2 separate regions of the Homo sapiens genome follow, and region 2 is linked to region 1. The links are contacts of gene promoters, found by promoter capture Hi-C in blood cells and fetal thymus (Javierre and others, 2016). All regions are on one chromosome and are shown on one strand. The core of a region is centred on a gene start or on the middle of the fragment in contact, and the rest is flanking DNA. Distances in the headings are between cores, read along the strand shown.

What was found. Contacts are between HindIII fragments. The CHiCAGO score rates a contact against its expected background, and 5 or more counts as called.
Region 2: a fragment that was not itself captured here is called in contact with the fragment with the promoter of C3orf70 in region 1 in 3 of 17 cell types (endothelial precursors, megakaryocytes and erythroblasts); the score reaches 11.4 in endothelial precursors.

The regions. Positions count from the first base shown.
Region 1 is chr3:185,149,937-185,155,516 of GRCh38, reverse strand. C3orf70 (chromosome 3 open reading frame 70) reads left to right here and starts at 2,457. Exons shown (of 2, transcript NM_001025266.3): 1 at 2,457-2,889. The coding sequence starts at 2,694. RefSeq lists an enhancer at 2,272-2,411 and a silencer at 2,832-3,051. The HindIII fragment of the contact is 2,735 bases long and covers 819-3,553 here.
Region 2 is chr3:184,887,094-184,892,673 of GRCh38, reverse strand. The region is part of intron 22 of VPS8 (VPS8 subunit of CORVET complex); the gene reads right to left. Among named protein-coding and RNA genes, the nearest start is that of VPS8, 78 kb to the right of the region's middle. The HindIII fragment of the contact is 3,047 bases long and covers 574-3,620 here.

The DNA of each region.
Region 1 (5,580 bases), core at 1,208-3,707:
AATAACGTCTTTAGGGCAAGGTGATGGAATGAGTTTCATGGTACAGAAAATGTAAAGGCTTCTCAACTTCAAATCACGTGTCTAACCTAAAATAAGGTGTTTGGATAATTCATCTTGCCTCCTAGCTAAAGTGCTATATTGCATGCTTTCTCATGCTCATTTTTTACTAGCTGAGATGGTTTATTTCATATATTGTGGAATCTTACCACATGGTTCACCCTGGGGTAAAAGTCAGGGGAAGGATCCCATACAAGTATTAGTTACTGAAATACAGAGAGGATGCCGTCATAAGGCCTTCTATGATAGGGGCAGTATTAGAGTGAGTTATAGGTTGGAGAAAGAGAAAAATAGGGTAGAACAGATGGAAAGTCCCCTTTGAAAAATTGTTGGTTGGCTTGCTGCAGTAATAATGGAGTATGGATTTCTTTGATTAAGATTTCTCTGCCTTTTACTTCCGTTATTCTGAGGTAGGTCAGACTGTGAAGTTAACAGCAGGGGTGCATAGATTTTGTGTCAGAGATGTATTCCTTTAGGATTTTTTTGAGGCGGGGAGCAGTTGGGGTGGAAGCTGATGAGATGATTCTTCATGTTTGCAACTGTTTCAATGTTAGGTTAATGGGGGAACTAGAGTTTGTGATTTTGATTCAGACCTTTCTGGAAAATACTTTTGCTGCCAAATTGAGTCTCTCCCCAATCCCTAATAAATGAAGATTTCACCAGAGTCAGATATATGCAAATTACATTTCCCTTCTCAAGCCAAGGTTACATAAAAGGGAAAATTATGAAAGATTGCTTATGGCAGCAAGGATTTTCAAGCTTGAGGATGAATTTGGTTGTTTCAAAACCATGATGAGTCTCTTGTCAGTGCAAAGCAGGAAAGGCATAAAGGAGAAAGTGGACCTGGGCATAAACATGTTCCCACACAGTGTTTGTGCTGAAAGCCTTGTTCCTTGAACAAGCATTCTTCTGTGCGTTTGGCAAATAAGGAGGGGGTGTCCCCTCCTCTTCTGTGTTCAAGGCTGGGTTCTGGCCTTGTTGCAGGGAAACACTAATTCCCAGCAGTGCACCATGGGAGCAAATGGTTTGTTTCCTCTTCAGTGAATCCAGCCTGGGGTCGGTTCTCAGCAGCAGAGCCTGGCATGGAAAATCTATTTGGAGCAACTTGTCCCCAGGAGGGAAGAGTGCGAGCCAACTGTGTGGGGAAGCCGCAGCCACCACAGGGTCAGTCACACCTGCTGGCCAGAGCAGGCGCTAACACAGAAAGGCAGAGTCCTCCGCATACATGAGTCCTGTTTGTGTGCCCACCCACTCCTATGTACCACACACACCCGATTTGATCCGTATATGCCATGTGCACACTCGACATGCCAGATACACGCACTGCACTGCCACACATATACCATACACACACCACTCTGTATTACTAAGCATACCCACCCCCACAACACGTGCACAAGCACATGCACGTCCAACTACACACATATACATATTCTGCACGCCACACACACTCAACCACACACACACCACCCACACTCCACCTCAGTTATAACATTCATTTCACATACACACGTATACACACACCTCACCAGTCACTTGCATCACGCATACCACCCACCATGTACCATGAACACACCTAACCACACACAACCACACACGCATACCCACCATACATACTCCAAATAATCATACACACGCACGCAACACACACATCCCATGCACACCAAACTACACATACGCAGACACACACACACATCAATGCACCCAGCTTTGTTGCTTTCCCGCTCAACGGAGGCGGGGGTGGGAGGAGAAGGGGGAGGGGCTGCGGTCCCGGCGAAGGTTGGGGCGGGCGCGGGAAGGCCCGGGCGCACTGGCCTGGGGTTTGGGGCGAGGCGGGCAGGGGTTGGCGGTGCTGGCCCCTGACGCGCCCTGTGGCCGCGCTGGGGCAGGAGGCCCGCCCTGGGTGGGGGGAGTGCGCGCGTGTGCACGAGCGTGTGCGCGCCTCCCAGGGGCTCCATGCCCAGACACGGGGAGGTGTGTACGAGGGAGATGTGAGACGCCTGTGGGGACAGGCTGTGTGTGTGAGATCCTCGCTACGCGATGCACCCGGCCCGGGCCACTAGGAGGTTCGGGTGGGCGTGGGCCAGGTGTGCGCAGCCCTCCGTGGAGCGTGTGGACGCGTGTGTCAGTTCTCGGTGGCCAGTGTCACTCGGGGGGAAGTGCATATGTAGGCTGGCGTGCATGTGAGTACAAAGCGGCCGAGGAGTGTGTGTTCACCACGGCCCTCCGTCGGGGTCTTTCTCCGAGGAAGGAGTGAGTATGTGAGGAGGACCTCGCTGTGACCGGCGGGGACGCCGACGGCCAAGCTCCCCAGCGGCGTGTGTGTGAGAAGGCCGGGCTCGCTGAGGAACGTCGCGCGGGGCCGACCGGCGCGCGCCTGTGCGCGTGCGTGTGCGCGTGGGGCGCGGCGCGCGCCGCGCCGGAGGGAGGGAGGCTGCCAGCCCGGACCCGGTCGCAGCGCCCGGGGCGGCTCCTCCTCGAGCCTGGGACCGCCGCGCTCCCGCCGCCGCCGCGTGCTGGCGTGACTCCCGGCCCGTGCCGCGCCCTCCCGCGTCCGCAGCCGGCTCGGCTTCCTGCCCACCCAGACGTCGCTTCTCCCGGGCTCCCGGTGTCGGCTCCGCGCGGAGGGAGAGGAAATGAGTGCGGCGGCCTCGCCGGCGTCGGAGCGGGGTTGGAAGAGCGAGAAACTAGATGAGGCTCAGGCCCTGGCGCGGAGTTGCGCCGCCCGCAGACCCGACTTCCAGCCGTGCGACGGGCTGTCTATCTGTGCCACGCACAGCCATGGCAAGTGCTTCAAGCTGCACTGGTGCTGTCACCTAGGATGGTGTCACTGTAAGTCGAGCCGCGTCTTCCCGCCTTCCGCCGCGGTCCGGGGGACGCCCGCCGGGCCGTCCGGGGTCGCTGCCGGAACTCTGCGGCCGCGGGGCTCCGGGCTCTGCCGGGGCTGCTCTGCCGGAGGCTGGGGCCGCCGTGGGCTCCGGGCCCGCCGGAGCTTTCCTTGCGCCGGACGGCTGGGGTTGGCGCTGCCTTGACGACGAGATGAAATCCCGTGGGGCGCCTCGCTTTCTTTAGCTACTTCTACAAAAGGGAGCTCCCTGTCCCAGGGAAGCGGGAATCTGGTTTTTTTTCTTTTCTTTTTCTTTTTTTGACCAAGGCGTCCAGGCGGTGTTTTGAGAAATGGGAGCGAGCCAGCTGAGTTGGCGACAGCTGTTGGGGATGCCTTTTTTCAAGGTTGCTGGTTAAAGATGCTCCTCTTTTTCTTTCTCACTTTTGTCTTCCTGGGCTGCTATTTAAAAGAAGGAGCCCTTGGATATCCAATTGTTTCCCCCTTGATTGTACCCAAATTGAGAAAAAGCGCTAATGTGGGAGGGATTGCTTCCAAGAAGTTAATATTAACAGTTTGGAAGGTCGAGCTCCTTAAATACCCAGATGTAGAATTTAGAGCCAAATAAATGAGACTTATAAAATTACAAAATAAAATGAGTGAAAGTAAGCTTAATAGTCTTAAACCAATTTATAAAAGCTAGAACCAAATGGTCTAAACCCTTTCTCTGTGTTTAGCCTCCTGCCTGTGATTTTTAAATAGATTAAACTTAAGTAGCCATTTAATTAGAATTTCACAATTTGATTAGCTAATAGTATTTGGACTATATCCGATGAATCATTCATTTTAAGAAATATATTCTAAAGTTAGTTTCCACATATATTTGTAATAGAGGGTTTTGGAGTGCTTATTTAGGACATTTTCCAAGTGATCTTAAGTTAAAATGAATTTTTCTTTGTTGAGAAAAAAATAGCTGACAACCAGGAATGCAGTACATAACAAATCCTTATTTACATTAATCGAACATAAATGAATATTTTAAATCGAATTTATGAATTCAAGGATAGAGGATCATTTTCTTTACAAATTCCAGGCACATAGAACAGTATTGATTTCTGGTGTTCCATTTGCTTATGGGCCAGTTTCTTCCTATTTCTCATTATTCCTGTTGTGCTCAGATCTGTTCTCTTTTGTTAGTATAAAGCATTGCTTCACGGTGGGACAGGGTACCGAGTTGGAAGTAGCAACTCTAGGAAACCTGGGATGCTGAAGTGCACAAGTAGAATCTGGACTTTCATTCATTTCGTGGGAAAGTATAGAATCGTTGTGTAAAATGTGAGGAATGTTCAAGATAGTCCAGGTTACTGTCTGTCTTATTTTGACAGTGTCTTCTCTAAGTACACCGTTACTGATGGGAACCTTGCAGTTTTCTCAGACAGCTTCTCCCTTCATTAGCCTTGACTCTTAAAATACTCTTCCTTATATGGAGCTGAAATCAGTTACTTTCTAACTTCTTTCTTCTGCTCCTATTTCTGCCTTATGAAATCATATAGAACAATTGAATCCTTTTTTAGATCATGGCTGTTTCAACTCTTCATATATACATTGCTGAATATACATATGAATGTCTTGCACATATGGACTGTCTTCTCTCTGTATCCCTGGCCATTCTCACAATGTCTTTCCTGAAATAGGTTTAACAATAATGTTCATTGAATGACTGAATGAAGCTAGTGATCATCTTTCTCTTAAGGCATTTCTTTGTCCTATTTATACATTTCCAGTCCCTTCTGCCTTTCCTTTTATGGAATAGTATTCAGGCTCCTAAGCATCTTGGTTGTTCTCTTCTGAACATGTGCCAAGGTGGTTTTGATCCTTTGAAGACTGTGGCCCCTAGAAAGGTAGACAATATTCCAGTTGTGGTCTGATCAGTCTAGAGTTGAACAAGACCACTACCTCCCATGTTCGAGATACTGCTATTGCTGCAGCTAGCATCACATTAGCTTTTCTGATATCTTCATCACATACTGAGCTTGCTGCTGTCAGATTGAACTAAGCTTGCCATCAAAGCCATTGAGCTGTTTTGTTTTTTTTTAACATATGTGACAAGCCACTGTTTGCCCATCTCACACTTATATTTTTGGACACAGGTACTGATCCCTTAGATATCTTTTCCTATTAAATTTCATTTCATTAGAATGAGCCTAATTTTGTGTGTGTGTGTTTTTAGATCCTGGCTCTTTCTTAATATATTTATAAGCTGTTTGTCCTAGGTTCATGTCATCCACATACTGGATACCAACAGTAGTACAGTACATGTTCATAAAAGTTACTGATAAAATTGTTGAACAAGAGAAAGCCACAGATAGAGTCCTGAAGCTTGCGGGTAGAACTGCCCTTCAGGTTGATAGCAATTCATTAATGAGCACTTGTTAGTTATGATTGTTCAAACAATTACCTAGCCACCTAGTTGCACTGTTATCCATCTTATATTTATCTTGTATATGGGTGTAATGAAAACCTGGTCAAATACCTTATTGAAATCCTACCAACACACTGTTTTTACTGCCTCTTTTTGATCTGTGACCTATCTGTACATACACTCTTTTTTTAAAAAAAAACAAGAAATTAGGTTAATCTGGTAAAACTCAGGTTGATTCCACAAATGGTTACCATTTTCTTTTCTAAATGGTTAGAAA
Region 2 (5,580 bases), core at 848-3,347, 260 kb after region 1:
ATAAAGAAGCAAGAAAAATAAGGCTCAGCAACTCCTATTTGCATCTCTACCTTAAAATAAAATTTTTTTTATATTCAACGACAAATTCTCATCATTCTGGGAGAATACTTATTAGTGCATCAGGAAAGAGGGGAGATAGAAAAGTACATACAGGCTAGGCCGGGTGCAGTGGCTCATGCCTGTAATCCCAGCTCTTCGGGAGGCCAAGGCAGGCAGATCACTTGAGGTCAGGAGTTTGACACCAGCCTGGCCAACCTGGGGAAACCCCGTCTCTACTAAAAATACAAAAATTAGCTGCGTATGGTGGCACGCGCCTGTAATCCTGGCTACTCAGGAGGCTGAGGCAGGAGAATTGCTTGAACCCAGGAGACAGAGGTTGCAGTGAGCCGAGATCGACTCCAGCCTGGGCAACTGAGCGAAACTCTATCTCAAAATAAAATTAAAAAAAAGACAAGTACATACAAAAATTTGTAGCTCTCATATTTTTTTCTATATTTAGGCACTATTCTCCAGGGTGCTATCTTTGTTTCCTAGAAGGGCTGACTTCAAAATTGATGTTTACCATTTCAAGCTTAGCCTCCCTATGGCCAGTGTAACAGAAAATCGATCATGAATAATAGAGGACCAAAGAGATATTTCTACAAACTTCACTTTATAACAGTACTCACATTAAAGGTATTTTTGAAGTTTATCATTTATAACTTCAAAAAGAGGACAACTGTTAAATTTACTTTGTACATTATCGATTTCATAATTTTTTAAATGTGAAGAGCTGCTTTGGTTATAAGAAATTACAAATTTAGAAGTATGTGAAGGGGAACAAGGGCATCAATCCTAACCCTTGCCAATCCATACTAAATATATAACCAGAACCAAACAAGTAAATTCCCACCAAATACAAGTGGTATTTAATATATCCAAAGTTGATGTGGGCTGGTTTCCTTATTTATAAAAGCAAAAGCAAAATTCAAATGAATTTTAACAAATTATGTTCAAAATGCTCTATTTTTTGATACAAGTACCACAGTTCGTAAAGATTTCCTTTAAAAAGGCATGTGGTGATACTTACACAGCTGTGAATACACTAAAAACTACTGAATTGTATACTTTAAAAGGGTGAATTTTATGGTATGTGAATTATATCTCAATATAGCTATTATAAAATTAAAAACGCCTTTTTTCCCCCAGCTTTGATATTAGGTTGGTACAAAAGTAATTGCAGTTTTTGCCATTACTTTTAATGATGAAATTTGCAATTACTTTTGCACCACCCTAATAAAATTTTAAACATCCAGTTCCTCAACAAGTCTTGATAATTAAGATCTTTTTGTTTCTCAAACAATAGTCCTGATGTTGAACAACATGAGTGAACAAATTAAAAGACTACTTCAAGTTCACTTTGGATTTAACAGAAACATTTTTGGTTCAGATGCATACATAACACAAGCCATTGGAACGATGGCTTCTTAACAACTGTGGATATTCCTTACAGTGATATAAACTCAAAGTCGTCGGTATCATCCATATAGAGCACCCATTTTGCTTTTTTTTAAAATAACTGCTTTATTGCTATATAATTCACATATAATCACATAACCCTATTTTTAAACAACGTTCAAAATTATAATTATGGTTTACATAAACTCTGGATCTATTTTCAAAGTAAAACTGACATTAGGGCTACCCATATATATGCTAACATATAGCCTATATTTTGCATAGGTAAAATGACAAATCAGAAGTATTCACAAAAAGCCTTAAGACATTGTGTCTTTTGTCTAATACTGAAAAAAAAATACACAAAACCAAATTGAAATGAAATTGTGGAACAGAGACCAAATTATGAAAATAAAGTATAAGTCTTCAAAAACAGAATTCCTGTCATTTCTGATATTAAGTAATTTACAAAAGACTCTAATGCCAAATTTTAACCAAGAAAGATGTCCATAATACACTGAGTAGTATGCCCTACAGAGAAAAACAAATGTGATTACTGTGACATAGTAAAAATGATTTTACATTATAAAAGTGTTATTAAATATAAATAGGAATACATATATCCACTAGCTTAATTAATATTACTGATGGGTACTGAATTATCTGAGTTATGAAACTATGAGGTAACAGTGATTATAGTGTAATAATGGTTGTGCCACTAAGTTAAAATTAATTTCAGAGCATGTATTATGTTTATAATTTCACCCACCTAAGAAACAATATAATATGTGAAAATAAAAGGACTGCCTATAAAAACAACATACTCAATCAGAAGACATTAATATAAAAGGAATCTGGGGAACAGGATTGAGTGAGTAATGAATCTAGAAGTGGAAGAAGTTACCTGAAATTGGCTAGCTGAGTACTAGATGACATTTTGTAAGACTGTGTTTGTATTATGCAAAATCTGAGCATTCCTTAAAGCAATGTTAATGTCACAGATATTTTGCTAATTTGGAAATGCAGAAGAGAAGACCTTAGACATAAATAGGACCAAATGTCAAAAAGGATAGTATAAAGAGAGGATCCAGTTTAAGGAGAAAAAATACTATGCTGGGATGAAGCTACTTACATCTGACAATCCTCCGCTACAATTTAGCATAGGGAACTGACCATTTTTAACCTTATTATCTATGGCAACTCTAAGAAAAAAATTTTTAAAACTCTACCATTTAAGTGGTTAGACTGAACTATTTAATTAAACATAGAATTCTTGTATCTAATAAATCTTTAGTCATTGCATGTTTGAAATAGAAGGGAAGTGAAAGATGGCCTAGATGCAAACAATTAAAGTTGATCAAACGGCTTATTCAATCTTTCCTTCTAAGTTCAGGCCCATATATAGAAGAATCTTAACATTCTGATGAAAAAGAAAAGCCAGTATGGTGAGAAGCAAACAAGCACAACACAGACCTAGAACAAAAGAGGGAGCGTTTGACCCAATGCCTAGTTTCACAGCCCCGACCTTTCTTACATCTCTAGGAATGCTGCCCTCCCGCTTTTTCTCCTATTAGAATAGAACCCAAAGAGTAGAATTAGGGAAAGAGACAAGGAGGGAAAGAAAGACAATAAGAACACACATGCTGGAACTTCTCCCAAGCAGAGGCAGGATCTAGTACAATCTAGTCTTCGGTGTTAGAAAACAGAATTGAGAGAAAGGGAAGCCATCCATACGCTCTTTGTACTATGGTCCAGGGAAAATGTCCATGGCCTTGACCTAAGAGTGTGTATGTAAGAGCAGGAGGAGGAAGAAAGAAAAGAGGTATGAAAAGCACCAGGAAGAGCTGAACTGAGGAAGGATTCTCTTCCTCTTGGAGGTGAGGAGTATATACTATGACTGCTGTTCCTGTTATTTCTGAGATCTCCAACAACAAATATTGTATTTGTTTCTGACACAATACAGAGAAAGCATGCTAAGGAATCAGGAAAAATTATAGGAAAGAAGTTGACAAAAATAAAGAAATAATAAATGGATCCTAATTTGGTGAAAATCTAGACCAGATTTTATCTTCTATGTTATATGCTGTGGTTCAATACAGAAATTATTGCATTCTCAGACAGTCAATAGGTGAAATAAATGTTAGAGAATATTTCCTTTCCAAATCATATAAAAAAGAAAAGCTTATCTCCAGAATATTTTAGGGAATAACAAAATATTCTGGAAAAACATAATCAATTTTTTTCCCTATATAATCTTTCATCTTACAACTGTTAGGCCCACTTCAACTTTATGTCACTGTGACAGTATTCTAGTATTCAAGATAATGATCACAAGTCACCCTGCAAACCAGGAGGCAGAATTACTTCATCAGTTCAACCATCAGGTATTGGATAGCTATATTGTGTCAGGTATCATTCTAGGTAGAAATAGTCCATTTTATAAAAATAAGCCGTTTTACTCTAAATAAAATTTAGTCCTTCAGGCACTTCACTTCATCTCATTTATAAATTATCTCAATTTGAATATCAGAGTTGATTCCAGTACTTATTAGTACTAGAAATACCTCTACACCTCCACTTCCTCATCTGAAAATGAGGATAACATTTTCTCTCTTTACACTGTATTTATGAGGGTTAAGTAGAATATGTAAAACTGATTCATAACCTATTAAGGCTGCTTTAAAAATACAGGACATATAACAAGGAATTGAGTGTGAAAGTGAGGTAAAGAGAAAACTAATTTAGAAAAAGATAGGGTCAGGTTAGCAGACATATCATGGCGCTTTGCTTTCTAGGAAACAATGATTAACTACACAATCACTGTCCATCAGCTAAAAGTCAACTAGCTATTCAAGAGACACAAAGGTATTTGTGGCCCTAACACCGGAAAGAAATTTCTCCCGTAGGCCCTCATAAAGCAGACCATGTGTAATATAAAGTAATGTTCTTGGCCGGGTGCGGCGGCTCATGCCTGTAATCCCAGCACTCTGAGAGGCTGAGGCGGGTGGATCATGAAGGTCAGGAGATCCAGACCATCCTGGCTAACACGGTGAAACCCTGTCTCTACTAAAAATACAAAAAATTAGCCGGGCATGGTGGCGGGCGCCTGTAGTCCCAGCTACCTGGGAGGCTGAGGCAGGAGAATGGCGTGAACCCAGGAGGCAGAGCTTGCAGTGAGCTGAGATCACGCCACTGCACTCCAGCCTGGGCGACAGAGCGAGATTCTGTCTCCAAAAAAAAAAAAAAAAGTAATGTTCTCAACAAGATCCCTACTGTAAACACGATGTGTTTTGCTAATTACGTAACACTAGAGTTAAAACACTGGAATAAATTTGAGCCCCAAGTAAGCAGAACTTACTATATAGCTATCTATGACTTCATCAAAGGTCTGACATAGCAAATTACTGCCCTCTTGACAATCTTTACTGATGCTTCAAAGTATGACCCAACCTTTTCTGAATCAGGCTACTAGAATTTACATAAATTCATGAACCAAGTCATGCTGCATAGGGTTTTGGGAGCATCTACATTAAATCTTCACATTTGTTCTCTATCACTTACAAAGTGGTACAAGCTAGTGGTTAAAACCAAGAACACAGGAGCTAGACTCATGCATTTGAATCCCACCTTTGCCACCAAAAGCTGTGGGACTGAGTTTTGGCAAGTAACTTAATCACTTTCTGGCTTTGGCACATCTTATATAAAATGTGGATGATAATAATCCCTACCTCACTGTTATAAAAATAAATTGCTACAAAAATTAGATAAATTAATGTAAAGCGTTTAGAACAATACCTGGTTATCATTATTAGTGTGGAAAAAAAAAAGAAAAAAAAAACCCTGTGCATTAGCACAGGTTGGTTGGTTTATTTTTTATTTTATTTATTCTTGAGATAGGATCTTGCTCTGTCACCCAGGCTGGAGTACAGTGGTGCAATCATGGCTTGCTGCAGCCTTGACTTCCTGCGCTCAAACGATCCTCCCACCTCAGCCTCCTGAGTAGCTGAGACCACAAGCACATGCTACTATGCCCAACTAATTTTTTAAAAATTTACTTGTAGAGACAAGGTCTCCCTATATTACCCAGGCTGGTCTCAAACTCCTGGGCTCAAGGAATCCTCCCACCTCGGCCTCCCACAGTGC